Linked DNA regions of Homo sapiens: region 2 is linked to region 1. The links are contacts of gene promoters, found by promoter capture Hi-C in human tissues and cell types (Jung and others, 2019). All regions are on one chromosome and are shown on one strand. The core of a region is centred on a gene start or on the middle of the fragment in contact, and the rest is flanking DNA. Distances in the headings are between cores, read along the strand shown.

Region 1 (5,863 bases), core at 2,555-5,054:
GGGGAACTGGGGAACTAGCTAAGCCATCCCCACAGTGGCCAGGGGCTACAGAGGTCACAGAATAGGCCAGTGAGATAAAGGAGTGAGCAGCAGCTGGGAATGCTAGGAGGAACTTGGAAGAAGTTCTGAGGGCAGATGCTTGAGAAAGGGTCCACAGCCCCATTCACTCCAAACTTTGGTTTGCGGTTTGAACAGGGCCTACCAGAGCTGTGTCCAGAAGAAGCATGAGTAAGGCCCTTACCGAGTTCAGATGAACTTATTCCAGGTTCCCCAATATTTCTATGATGAAGCTAGGGTAATTCCGACCATCACCCACCCCATACACACATACACATACACACACACACACACACACACACACACACACCCCTACACCTACACACATAGGCTGAGGCTGGCCCTGCTAGTAATAGCACTAGGTAGAATAAAAGCCCATTTTTTTTTGAATAGCAAGGCACGTGTGAGTCCTCAACTAAGCCCAAGGAAAAGATCCAAGGATCAGGAGTGGGACCACTAGACCCAAGAGATAACTTCCATTCCTGAAATGAAACCGAAGCAACCAATAAGCACTGTGCAGCCCTGTGCCATGATGGTCCTATGACACTGCCAGCCTCTCCTCAGACAAAACCCATCACCACCATTAGGTCACAGAGCACCCTGTACTTTGGTCCAAAATTGCCAAGGCATTCATTATTAACAGCACTAAAGGCAGCCCTGCCTCCATTTGGGTGTATTGGTACTCTTTTCCAACTTCATTACAATTCTCCCCAAAGCACCTGAACCTGCTTCTGGGCAACAGTGTTTTTATCCACAACTTTCAGCTGTATATGCTCTGTGGCTGTCGGTCACCCTGCTCCCCTCACCAGCCCAATGCTTGCTCAATGGGCACATGAAGAAGCCATGATGGCAGAGGATGGAAGCTAGGAACTTGGCCCAACAGCATAAACTTCCCCTTACCAAAACTGAAAACCTGACTGGCTACTGCCTCTGCCCAGTGTCCAATTTGCCAGCAGCAGTAATCAACACAGAGTGCCTCCACAGCTCCTTCCTTCAAAGGCACTGGCTGGGGATGGATGGATAACTTATATTCGTTATGGGAGGCATGCAACACTGCCCTCACCCTTGGAACTGCTGAGAAAGGGTCTCCAGCCCCATTCACAGCTTCAGTGATCTGTCCATATGAGGAGGAGGCAGAGCTGAAGAGGAATGTACATGGGCCACAACATGTCCCCTCCCCTTCATACCATAACACAGGCGCTCAGAAGATACACTGGCTCACATGCACCCCACACACATGCACGTGTCTACACTTAACAACACACAAGCATGTACACATGCTGCCAGCCTCCCCACAATCCCTCAGTTACACACATACACATAAGTGACCAGACATCTCTGCAGGGGTTGTGACCTTTCACGTGCATTCGTCTCCTTAAGTTTGTACACTGAACCAGGCCCCCAGAGCTCACTGATACCCATTCTCCACCCCCCAGCTGTTCTGTTGGCTGTTATTTCCAAAGACTCCATCAGGCACATCTCCATCCTATCTAGAGTGACACCCACCAGAGGTGGCTACAGACTTGGGCCATGAAGACTACAGTCACTCCATGATGGAGCCATCTTCATGGCACATCCCCTAGACCAGGACACCCCCTCCTCCTCCCACATTCCAACCATTAAAAAATTGGACCTCTCTCTCTTCTGTCCAAGTCACTTCCCCACCGGAGGGTGGCCCTTGGCTGACGCCTGGCAAATAAGGAACAGTTTGTGGATAAAGCACCCTTGTGGGCAGACCGGGGAGAAGGGAGGTTATGCTTTGAGCCTTTCCCCACTTGGGTCTATTTTTCTATTAAGTATACATTGCAGTGGATAAAAAAAAACACACTAGTATGAAATAGGAATTAGGAAACCTTTTTTCTAGCCCCAGCACACTGCCATTCACAAGCTCTCTGACTTTGGACAAATTGCTCCCTCCCTGAGCCTCAGTTTCCCCATCTGTAAAATAGCCTCCGAGTTTCAGCCCTGCTCTAAAAGTATCAGGAATTATTCCTAGGCAAATCAATCTTCTTTGGAACAAGAATCATTACAAGAAGAAAACTCATTATAATGGCAACTAATCCATATTCATCTATTTGCTACATATTATCTTTAAAACTCTTCTTCATGCCGTTTGAATGCATGCCCAATATCTCAAAGGTTTGGGCTATATATTCCCACACTACACTAGGGGCTTCTGGTGTGGGACTGTCTCTCCCCCATCAAACTTTGTGAGCAGGAGCAAAGCCCACAACATTTCCCTGGAAAAGCAAGAGTCAAAGTGGGGTCAGGACAGACACCAGAAAAAATCTTGGAGTCTCTGTGCTAGAAACTGTAAGCCACCTGCTGAGCCTCAAACCCAATTAATTACCACTCTTTTGACCCTGCCAATCCCTGTTGTGTAAGACCTCTCTACTCTCTATTTCTCCCACTTGCTCCCCAATGATCTAGTTCCCCAGGTCCCACCTCTCCTGAATCTCTCCAGCCCACCCCTCCCTGCCGGAACCCCATTCCTGCCTCAATCTTCCCTGCTTCTGCACTCACCAGCCCCTGGGCCAAGGACAGAGAACAGCAACAGCAGCAATAGGGCTGGCGGCAGCTGAAACCCAGACTTGAGTCTAGGCTGGGAGAGGGGCAGAGTATGAGAGATAGGGGGGACTAGAGGGAGAGACTTGGGTAAACACAGAGATGAGGGCAAAGGCTGAGATAATGGGTTGGGCTGGGCTGGACACTGGGGCTTGAACAAGGGCAGGGAGTGGGATGGAAGGAAGGGCTGTGATGGGGACTGCAGCAAGGGACGGGGTTGAGCCAGGGCCTTAAGCAAACACTGGGAATGGGGCTGGGACAGGGCCTGGGCTGGGATTTGTGACAGGGGGTGGAACGAGGGCCGAGGCCGGGATGGGGGCCAGGCCAGGGGCAGAGACTGGAAGGGGGTCCTGGATGGGGACCCAGGCAGGGGCTGGGGCCGATGTGGGAAGCGGGGCGAGGGCGGGGCTGGGGGCCAAGGCGGGGATTGGGATAGGACGAGGGGCCGGGACAAGGGCTGGGCCATGGCCCGGGGCGGGGGCGGGGCCGGACAGGCCAGCGCGGGGCGCTCGCAGAGCTGGCCCGCGGCTCCGCTCCCCACCCCCGGGGGGTGGCCTCCGGTGTCCTCGCGGGCCCGGGGCGGGGGCCGGGGACCTGGGTAGGAGTTCAGGCCTGGGCGACTCCGGGCTGCGCTGAACCGGCGATAACCAGGCCCCGCGGCGGCGGCCTCGACTTGACGTCGGCGTGACGCCCCGCCCCCCGGCCGGCTCGATTGGTCCCTGTCAGTAAAGCCCGCCCCCGCCCTACTCTATTGGTCCCCAACTTAGTCCTGCTGGGCTTCGAGGACACACAGACTCCGCCCCCGCCTCAGCTACCCGAGACCCTGCCTTTCTCACCCCAAGCACAGAGCCCGAGGTCCCCTCAGATCCTCACAGCCCCCAACGACCGCCCCACAGATGTCTCAAAGGAACCCTATCCTCACAATCCCAGACTCCCCCGGACGTACGCACAGATCTCCGCAGATCCTACCCAAACACTCGCTCACAGAGATCCCGCAACACACACCCCACTTTTCAGAAGTAAACCCTCTGGGCTCGCCCCCTCGAGGCCCAATGCAAGCCCCTCAGGAGACCTTACCCACCGGGGAGGTGACCAGACCGCCGTTGCCACGGAGACTACTAGGCGTTCCGGTTGCCCTGGTGACCGGCGCCTACTCTCCTGGCCCGGGTTCCGGAGGCTTCAGTCAAGACCCTCCCTCATTGGCCCTAGACCCCTTGTCCCTACCCACTTCCCCAGGTCATGCCAGAGCTCCTTTGCGAAGTTCTGCAGATATCCAAGTCCCCTTCCCAGATAGCAGACTTTCAGGCAAGGCATTTCAACACTCAGCACCTGCAGCTGAGGCACATCCACAACCAAGAGCCTTTCCTCCCTGAGGATCAACACCTCCCCCTGCCATCCTAAGTCAAGGTCTTGACCTAAGGACTTGTAACAACCAAGCCAAAGCCCAGAGGGTAGGTGGTTTCTCCAACGGCCCTTGCCCTCTTCCCTCAAAGACATCTGTCTTTCTCCCACCCCTCAGTCCCTTCACATTGTTGTAGTAGTAGTAGTAGTAGTAGTAGTAGTAGTAGTAGTAGTAGTAGTTGTTGTTGTTGTTGTTGTTGTTGTTGTTGTTGTTGTTGTTTGAGACAGAGTCTCGCTCTGTCCCCCAGGCTGGAGTGCAGTGGTGCGATCTGGGCTCACTGCAACCTCCGCCTCCCAGGTTCAAGTGATTTGCTTGCTTCAGCCTCCCCAGTAGCTGGGACTACAGGCGCCTGCCACCATGCCCAGCTAATTTTTGTATTTTTAGTAGAGACTGGGTTTCACCATGTTGGCCAGGCTGGTCTCGAACTCCTGACCTCAAGTGATCCACCCGCCTTGGCCTCCCAAATTCTGGGATTACTGGCATGAGCCACCATGCCTGGCCCACATTCTGTACTTTTCATCCTTACTCTCCTCCTCCACCCAATTTCCTCCTCCCCTTCTCTTTCCCCTTCCTCACCTCCCATCTTCTGGTTCTCCACTCTTAGGCCCCTTTTCTCTCTAGCTGACTCTGGTCATCTTCCTCCCTGTAATCCTACCTCTGCCCCTAATTCCCTTCCCAAACATCCCCTTCAAAAAGGCTCTGATGCATTTAAGGAGTGATATATCTAGCGTCTCTGGAACATGGGGGTAAAGTAGGGAGCACGGAAAGTTAAGGCAGGAATCCTCAGGCTGTGTTGAAAATGATGACAGGCCTTGAATGCCAGGGCCAAGAAATTTGGACTTAATCCTTTAGACTGAGTCATGGAATGTTTTTAAGCCACAAAGTGCCAGTTGTTGGGCTTGCACTTTAGAAAGATCCTGATTGGGTCAGGAAGGAGGACTACATCCTTGCAGGATAAATTAGGTATATCCCCCTCCCCACCGTATCCTAGACTCACCCCAGAACAACATCAATTTATTTGTATTGCCATTGTTGGTTAATCGGTCTCTCTCCTAGACTCAACTCAATCTAGAGCTTAGCACAGCGGGTCAGTAAAAGCATCAGATTAGGCTCATTGTAAAAGTATAAGTTACATAAATCCATGAAAGAATGGGTGAATGGATTAAAATGCTGTGGATGGAAGTAGAGGGGCAAAGTTATTACACAAAGGCTGAAGATGATGAGAACTTGAATAAAATTGGAAGGGAGAGGAGAGAATGCATTTGGGGAATATTTAGAAGATAGGAAATAGAGTTATTGGTGCCTATTTGAAGATGGAGTCTAAGGGAAAAGGAAAAGACTAGGATAATTCCCAAAGTTCAGTTTTGCTGTCTGTGGAAACACTCAGTTAGAAATGACCAGCAGGGGCCAAGCACGGTGGCTCACTCCTGTAATCTCAGCACTTTGGGAGGCCAAGCAGGGCAGATCACCTGAGGTCAGGAGTTCAAGACCAGCCTGACCAACATGGTGAAACCCCGTCTCTACTAAAAATATAAAACTTAGCCGGGCATGGTGGCACACGCCTGTAATTCCAGCTACTTGGGAGGCTGAGGCAGGAGAATCACTTGAACCCGGGAGGCGGAGGTTGCAGTGAACCGAGATTGCGCCACTGCACTCCAGTCTGGGCAACAGAGCGAGACTCCATCACAAAAAGAGAAGAGAAGAGAAGGCCAGCAGGCAGGTGGGTATGAGTGTGAAGTACAGAGGTTGAAAAAGGTCTGAGCTAGAAATGTGAATTTAGGAGTCATTGGTACACAACTGGAAGTAGTTAAAGCTTTGAACATGAATGACATCATTAAG
Region 2 (5,945 bases), core at 18-2,517, 260 kb before region 1:
CAAGATGAATGCCAATATGCTACCACCTAACTCTGGTTATAAGTGCTAACCCAGGTTATCCACCAATATAATAAAAAGTTCAAAGTTTCATAATTTAATAAAGAGAATGTCCCTTAGATGTCAGATCAAAACATCTTCTAAACTGTAAGCTTACTTAATGATCTCTATAAGGATAGAATTCATCTATTGCATCATCTTAAATATTTACTACCCTGCCAATGCTAATCCTCCACACCCCAAAACACAGAGCTTTTAGCACTCAATATACAGAACAATGTTTTGTATACGGTACACAATGCTCAATACACATTTGTTGGATGAAATAATATTTTATATTTTCTAAATGCTAAACCTATACCACGTAAGAATATAACACACGTTTGCTAGGCTTAAAATCATTAATTAAAATGCCATTTTCTACTGATTTTGGTAAAGGAAAATGAAATACTAACCTACATGTTGAAGTGTTTGCTTTAGAACAACAATGCAATTTAGCCCCATCGAGGCCTGTAGAGGGAGGAGGGTGTACAGTGACTCCAGGGTGAACAGATTGTGAGCTTTCAAGAAAACATTGCCAAAGAGGATCTTGAGGCAAGGGCTGGGTCTTACAACCCTCGATGAGACCATCAACAATCTCCATTTCCGTTTTCTTGGACATCAGGATTCTCTTGCAGGCATTTTGGCAAGCATGGTCTTCAGCTCTGTCACAGCAATATAAACCTACATTTTCAGAATATAAGTGGCTTAATTAGCTGTTTTTTTTGTTTGTTTTTATTGTACTTTAAGTTCTGGGATACATGTGCAGAATGTGCAGATTTGTTACATAGGTATACACATGCCATGGTGGTTTGCTGAACCCATCAACCTGTCATCTACATTAGGTATTTCTCCTAATGCTATCCCTCCCCTAGCCCCCAACTCCCTGACAGGCCCTGGTGTGTGATGTTCCCCTCCCTGTGTCCATGTGTTCTCATAGTTCAACTCCCACTTATGAGTGAGAACATGCAGTATTTTGTTTTCTGTTCTTGTGTTAGTTTGCTGAGAATGATGGTTTCCAGCTTCATCCATGTCCCTGCAAAGGACATGAACTCATCCTTTTTTATGGCTGCATAGTATTCCATGGTGTAGATGTGCCACATTTTCTTTATTCAGTCTGTCACTGATGGGCATTTGGGTTGGTTCTAAGTCTTTGCTACTGTGAATAGTGCTGCAATAAACATATGTGTGCATGTTTTTTTTTTCTTTTTTTGTCATGCTCTGCTTAGCACAGAACATGGCAGTGTAGTGGAAGCCATTACTACTCTTAGTTATATGTCAGTATTTGCAGAATACAGGCCCTACCAAATTCTCTATTACTTTGCAGTGTAGCAAAAAGGTGAGGAGCTTTAGGTGGACAAGGTATCTATTACCAGAATTCACCACTGTCTCCAATCATGGGATCTTTAGCACCATCCTTACAAAAATGAAAGGCCATCCTACACCTAAGAAGTCCTCACAGGAGAGGTATTTGATATTCCTAGAAAAGGTATTGTAGATGAAACTGGAATTATTTCCTGCTAGAAACAATTACCTAAAAGGGATTATGTTCTTGACATGAGAGAAATGACTAATTTTTATAGCAACAAACACAAACACCATATTGAGAGGTGAAGCCGGCTGGGCCTCTGGGTCAGGTGGGGACTTGGAGAACTTTTCTGGCTAGCTAAAGGTTTGTAAAGGTAGCAATCAGCACTCTGTAAAAATAGACCAATCAGCACTCTGTAAAACGGACCAATCAGCAGATGTGGGCGGGGCCAAATAAGGGAATAAAAGCTGGCCACCCGAGCCAGCAGTGGCAACCTGCTCCAGTCCCTTTCCATGCTGTGGAAGTTTTGTTCTTTCACTCTTCACAATAAATCTTGTTGCTGCTCACTCTTTGGGTCGGCACTACCTTCATGAGCTGTAACACTCACTGCGAAGGTCTGCGGCTTCACTCCTGAAGTCAGCGAGACCACGAACCCACTGGGAGGAACAAACAACTCTGGATGCCACCTTTAAGAGCTGTAACACTCACGCGAAGGTCTGTGGCTTCACTCTTGAAGTCAGCGAGACCAAGAACCCACCGGAAGGAACCAATTCCAGACACAATATTTCATTACATTCCAGGACCACATAAAGCTTTTATATATCTTATGCTAATTAATCTAAGTTGTAACATAAATAGTACAGTAGCGAACTCTGACAAGATATCAGTTTGGCTCTGCCTTTAATTTTCTCAAAGAATCAGAAATAAAAAAACACTTTCAACCATATTACAGAATTCAGAAGGGCTTCTTTGAAGTAGTTTTCTCTGACTTTGGAAGAAATCTGTGCATATCTGTTTGGCGCCTTCTTTTCCAGATTCCTCTGTATTGGCAAAGATGGAGACGGTTGTTCTACCCTTAAAACCTCTTTCTGCTTTTTTATTGAGCTGCCATCTCCTTAGCTCCAGCAGTATCTCGTATAGACTAAATGTCAGAGAGCACAGATCTGCCTTTAAAACAAATGAAGGTTATTGGGGCAATGCTTCATCCTCTGATTTTGACCACACAGCTACACCAAAGGATGTCAAAAGCCATTAGAGTTCTGATTTAGATGGTGGCCAAACAAGGCACACAGTACTGCTACTGAGTTACAAAAAACAAGTCTTTCTTTCTTTTCATCTTTTTTTTTCCCCCCGAGGCAGGGTCTTGCTTTGTTGCCCTGGCTGGAGTGCAGTGAAGTGATGATGGCTCACTGCAACCTTGAACTCTTGGGCTCAAGCGATCCTCCAGCATCAGCCTCCTGAGGAGCTGGGTGTGTCACCACACCCAGCTAATTATTATTATTATTTTTTTGTAGAGCTGGGTTCTCACTTTGTTACCCAGGCTGGTCTCAAACTCTTGGCCTCAAGCAATTCTCCTGCCTCAGCATCACAAAGCGCTGAGATTACAGACATAAGCCACAGAGCCTCTTTCAATATCACAGTGTAAATCAAAACATTGACATCTTATAAATCAGTCTTTGGTCAGTTTGGTCAATCAGTCAGTTTTTATAAATCTGGTCACCTCTAGGTGAAGAAAATGGATTCCAGGATGTACAAAGCGGAGACTCTGAAGAGCCATTTCAGGTGCAGCTTCATCAGGAGGCCCTAATTTTTAAAAGATATCAGGCTCTCTTCTCATTGTTATGACTTTTTAATTACAAAAGTAATAATTGCTCATTGGCAAAAAATTCAAACACTGTGGAAAATATATAAAGTGAAACAATTAGGTATAAACTAAAAATATATCACACTATATTTTTAGTTCTGTGATTTACTTTTTTTTTGCTTAATACATCTTGGACTTCACTATTTTTTAGAGACAGGGTTTTGCTCTGTCACCCAGGCTGGAGTGCAGTGGCACAATAATAATTCACTGCAGCCTTGACCTCCTGGGCTCAAGCCATCTTCCTGTCTCTACCTCTCCAGTAGCTAGGACTACAGCTATGTGCCACCATGCCCAGTTAATTTTTTAATTTTTTGGAGACATAGGGTCTCACTATGTTGTCCAGGCTGGTCTTGAACTTTTGACCTCAGGCAATCCTCCCATCTAGGCCTCCCACAGTGCTAAGGTTACAGGTGTGAGTCACTATGCTGGCCAACTCGGACGGGCCTACCTTCCTTCCTTCCTCCCTCCCTCCCTCCCTTCCTCCCTTCATCCCTTCCTTCCTTCTTCCTTCCTGACGATGTCTGGTCTGTTGCCCAGGCTAGAGTGCTGTGGCACAATCTCGGCTCAATGCAACCTCCACCTCCAAGTTTCAATCAATTCTCCTGCCTCAGCCTCCCGAGTAGCTGGGATTACAGGCATGTGCCACCACACCTGGCTGATTTTTGTATTTTTAGTAGAGACAGGGTTTCAACATGTTGGTCAGGTTGTTCTTGAACTCCTGACCTCAGGTGATCTGCCCACCTCAGCCTCCCAAAGTGCTGGGATTACAGGCGTGAGCCACCGTGCCTGGCCTTTTTGTTTTGTTTTGTTTTTTTAGACAGGCTCTCTCTCTGTCATCCAGACTGGAGTGCAGTGGTAGGATCTTGGCTCACTGCAACCTCAGCCTCCCAGGTTCATGTGATTCTCCAGCCTCAGCCTCCCAAGAAGCTGGGATCACAAGCGTGTGAACCTGGCTAATTTCTGTATTTTTTGTAGAGATGGGGTTTCACCATGTTGCCCAGGCTGGTCTCAAACTCCTGAGCGCAAAACGATCTGCCTGTCTTGGCTTCTCAAAGTGCTGGGATTACAGGCATGAGCGACCACACTCAGCCTTGGACTTCTACGTAAGAAGTCCTTTTTTTTTGTTGGTTGCCAAGTGTTATTATTCTATAGGTATGCCGTAATTTACTTAATCAATTTTAATCAATGCTGTATTGATGGATGTTTGGGTTGTTTGTCATTTTTCTCTATTATACCAGCATTGTAGTGAACATTGTTTATATGCATATATATTTATTTTTGCAAATTTATATAAGTTTTCTTATGAGATAAATTCTGAGAAATGGAACTGCTAGATCAGAAGCTTATGATAATTTGAAATCCTAATGGTCATTACCCAACTTCCCTCTAAAAAATCCATATCAGTGAACTCTCCCACCCTCAGAATTGAGAATTCCTGTTTCCTCATACCCTCTACAGTTTCATCTTTCTTGGCCCCTTTTGGCTGTGACAATATTATTCAATCTGCCAAATCTAAATACCAAAGGAAGTCTGATATTTCTCAAATGACCCAGACTGCAGATATCTACAAGAACGTATCACTTCTTTTTACAAACGATTTTACCAAAGATTGAAATGAGAAGAATATGTCCCTTTTACTTACTATCCGTTGGGTTCCTCATTGGATAAGATTGAGTATAATTGTTCACACAATGTATTAATTGTGGACTAATAGAGGCGCAATAATTTTCCACTGCTTTTATCTGAGATGGACCAGGAGAAGAGTCTGTTCGAAAAATGGCTTGACAGTATTCTCGGCAGTTTGTGTGATGACCTGCATAACTGCAACAAACCGAGCCCACTATGGAGAAAAAAAGAGAAGGCACTGACATGGAAACAGCTTTTTGTTAACATTAAATCATCATCATAATGATGGAACAATATGTCTTTCTAAATTTGAGAAATAAAACCATGCCACAGACGATGAACACTTAAAATCGGCACTTCTGTAGGTATACTCACGGGGACATTCAAGTGCTCACTAGTGTAATAAAGTCATTAATCATCAACTTACAGTCTATAGTCCAGTGGTTCTCCACAGGAACAGTATCACACCCCACAAGGAGTTGGACTACGACTGGCATTTAGTACATGAGGGTTAGGGCTGCTAAACGTCTTGCAATGCATAGGACAGTCTCAGACAACAAACACTGTCTCTCAAAATGCCAAGAGTGCCCATGTTGAAAACCAGTGAAGCAGTGTCTTTCTGTGTTAGATTTGTAGAGGTTTATAAACACAAAGCAAAGCAAAACCAAACCAAACCAAAATAAAACAAAACCCCAAATCCCTCACATTTATAAAACAGGGCCAGTAAAAACTAAGTGATGTAAGGATCATTTAATAAATTTGACATTTATATAACTGTATATCTTGAAACAAAATCCCAAAAGTTCTGTACAGTTTGAACATCTATCTGTAAGAGTTTGCCTAAATTGAGATAGACTTCATCTCACAATTGATATGTCCTGCTTCAACACTGAAAAGAAAACTCATTTGAAATAAATATTACTCTGGATTTATTTATTTAAAAAATCAATGGGCTGTCATTTAAGGTATTTTGGGAGAGCTAGATGAGTAGCTGGGGGTGCAGATGTGGGATCTGTAAAGGAGAAGAACAAGAACCCCTCACAGGAATCTAAGGGAGTCTGTGGGAGGCTGAAGGGAGAGGTAGAGGTATGGGAGGAAGAGGTTAAGAGA

The links. The method cuts DNA at HindIII sites, captures the fragments that hold promoters and counts their contacts. A contact is called where the count stands out against the background at its distance.
Region 2: a contact is called between a fragment that was not itself captured here and the fragment with the promoter of FAM221B in region 1, in 2 of the 25 tissues and cell types used here (dorsolateral prefrontal cortex and mesenchymal stem cells).

What each region holds. Positions count from the first base shown.
Region 1 is chr9:35,826,673-35,832,535 of GRCh38, reverse strand. FAM221B (family with sequence similarity 221 member B) reads left to right here and starts at 3,804. Exons shown (of 7, transcript NM_001012446.4): 1 at 3,804-4,073. TMEM8B (transmembrane protein 8B) reads right to left here and starts at 3,308. Exons shown (of 13, transcript NM_001042590.4): 1 at 2,581-3,308. The coding sequence starts at 3,088. RefSeq lists an enhancer at 2,216-2,716 and a silencer at 3,002-3,451. The HindIII fragment of the contact is 23,285 bases long and covers 1-5,863 here.
Region 2 is chr9:36,082,469-36,088,413 of GRCh38, reverse strand. RECK (reversion inducing cysteine rich protein with kazal motifs) reads right to left here. Exons shown (of 21, transcript NM_021111.3): 8 at 4,852-5,049; 9 at 453-720. Among named protein-coding and RNA genes, the nearest start is that of RECK, 49 kb to the right of the region's middle. The HindIII fragment of the contact is 4,175 bases long and covers 1-3,354 here.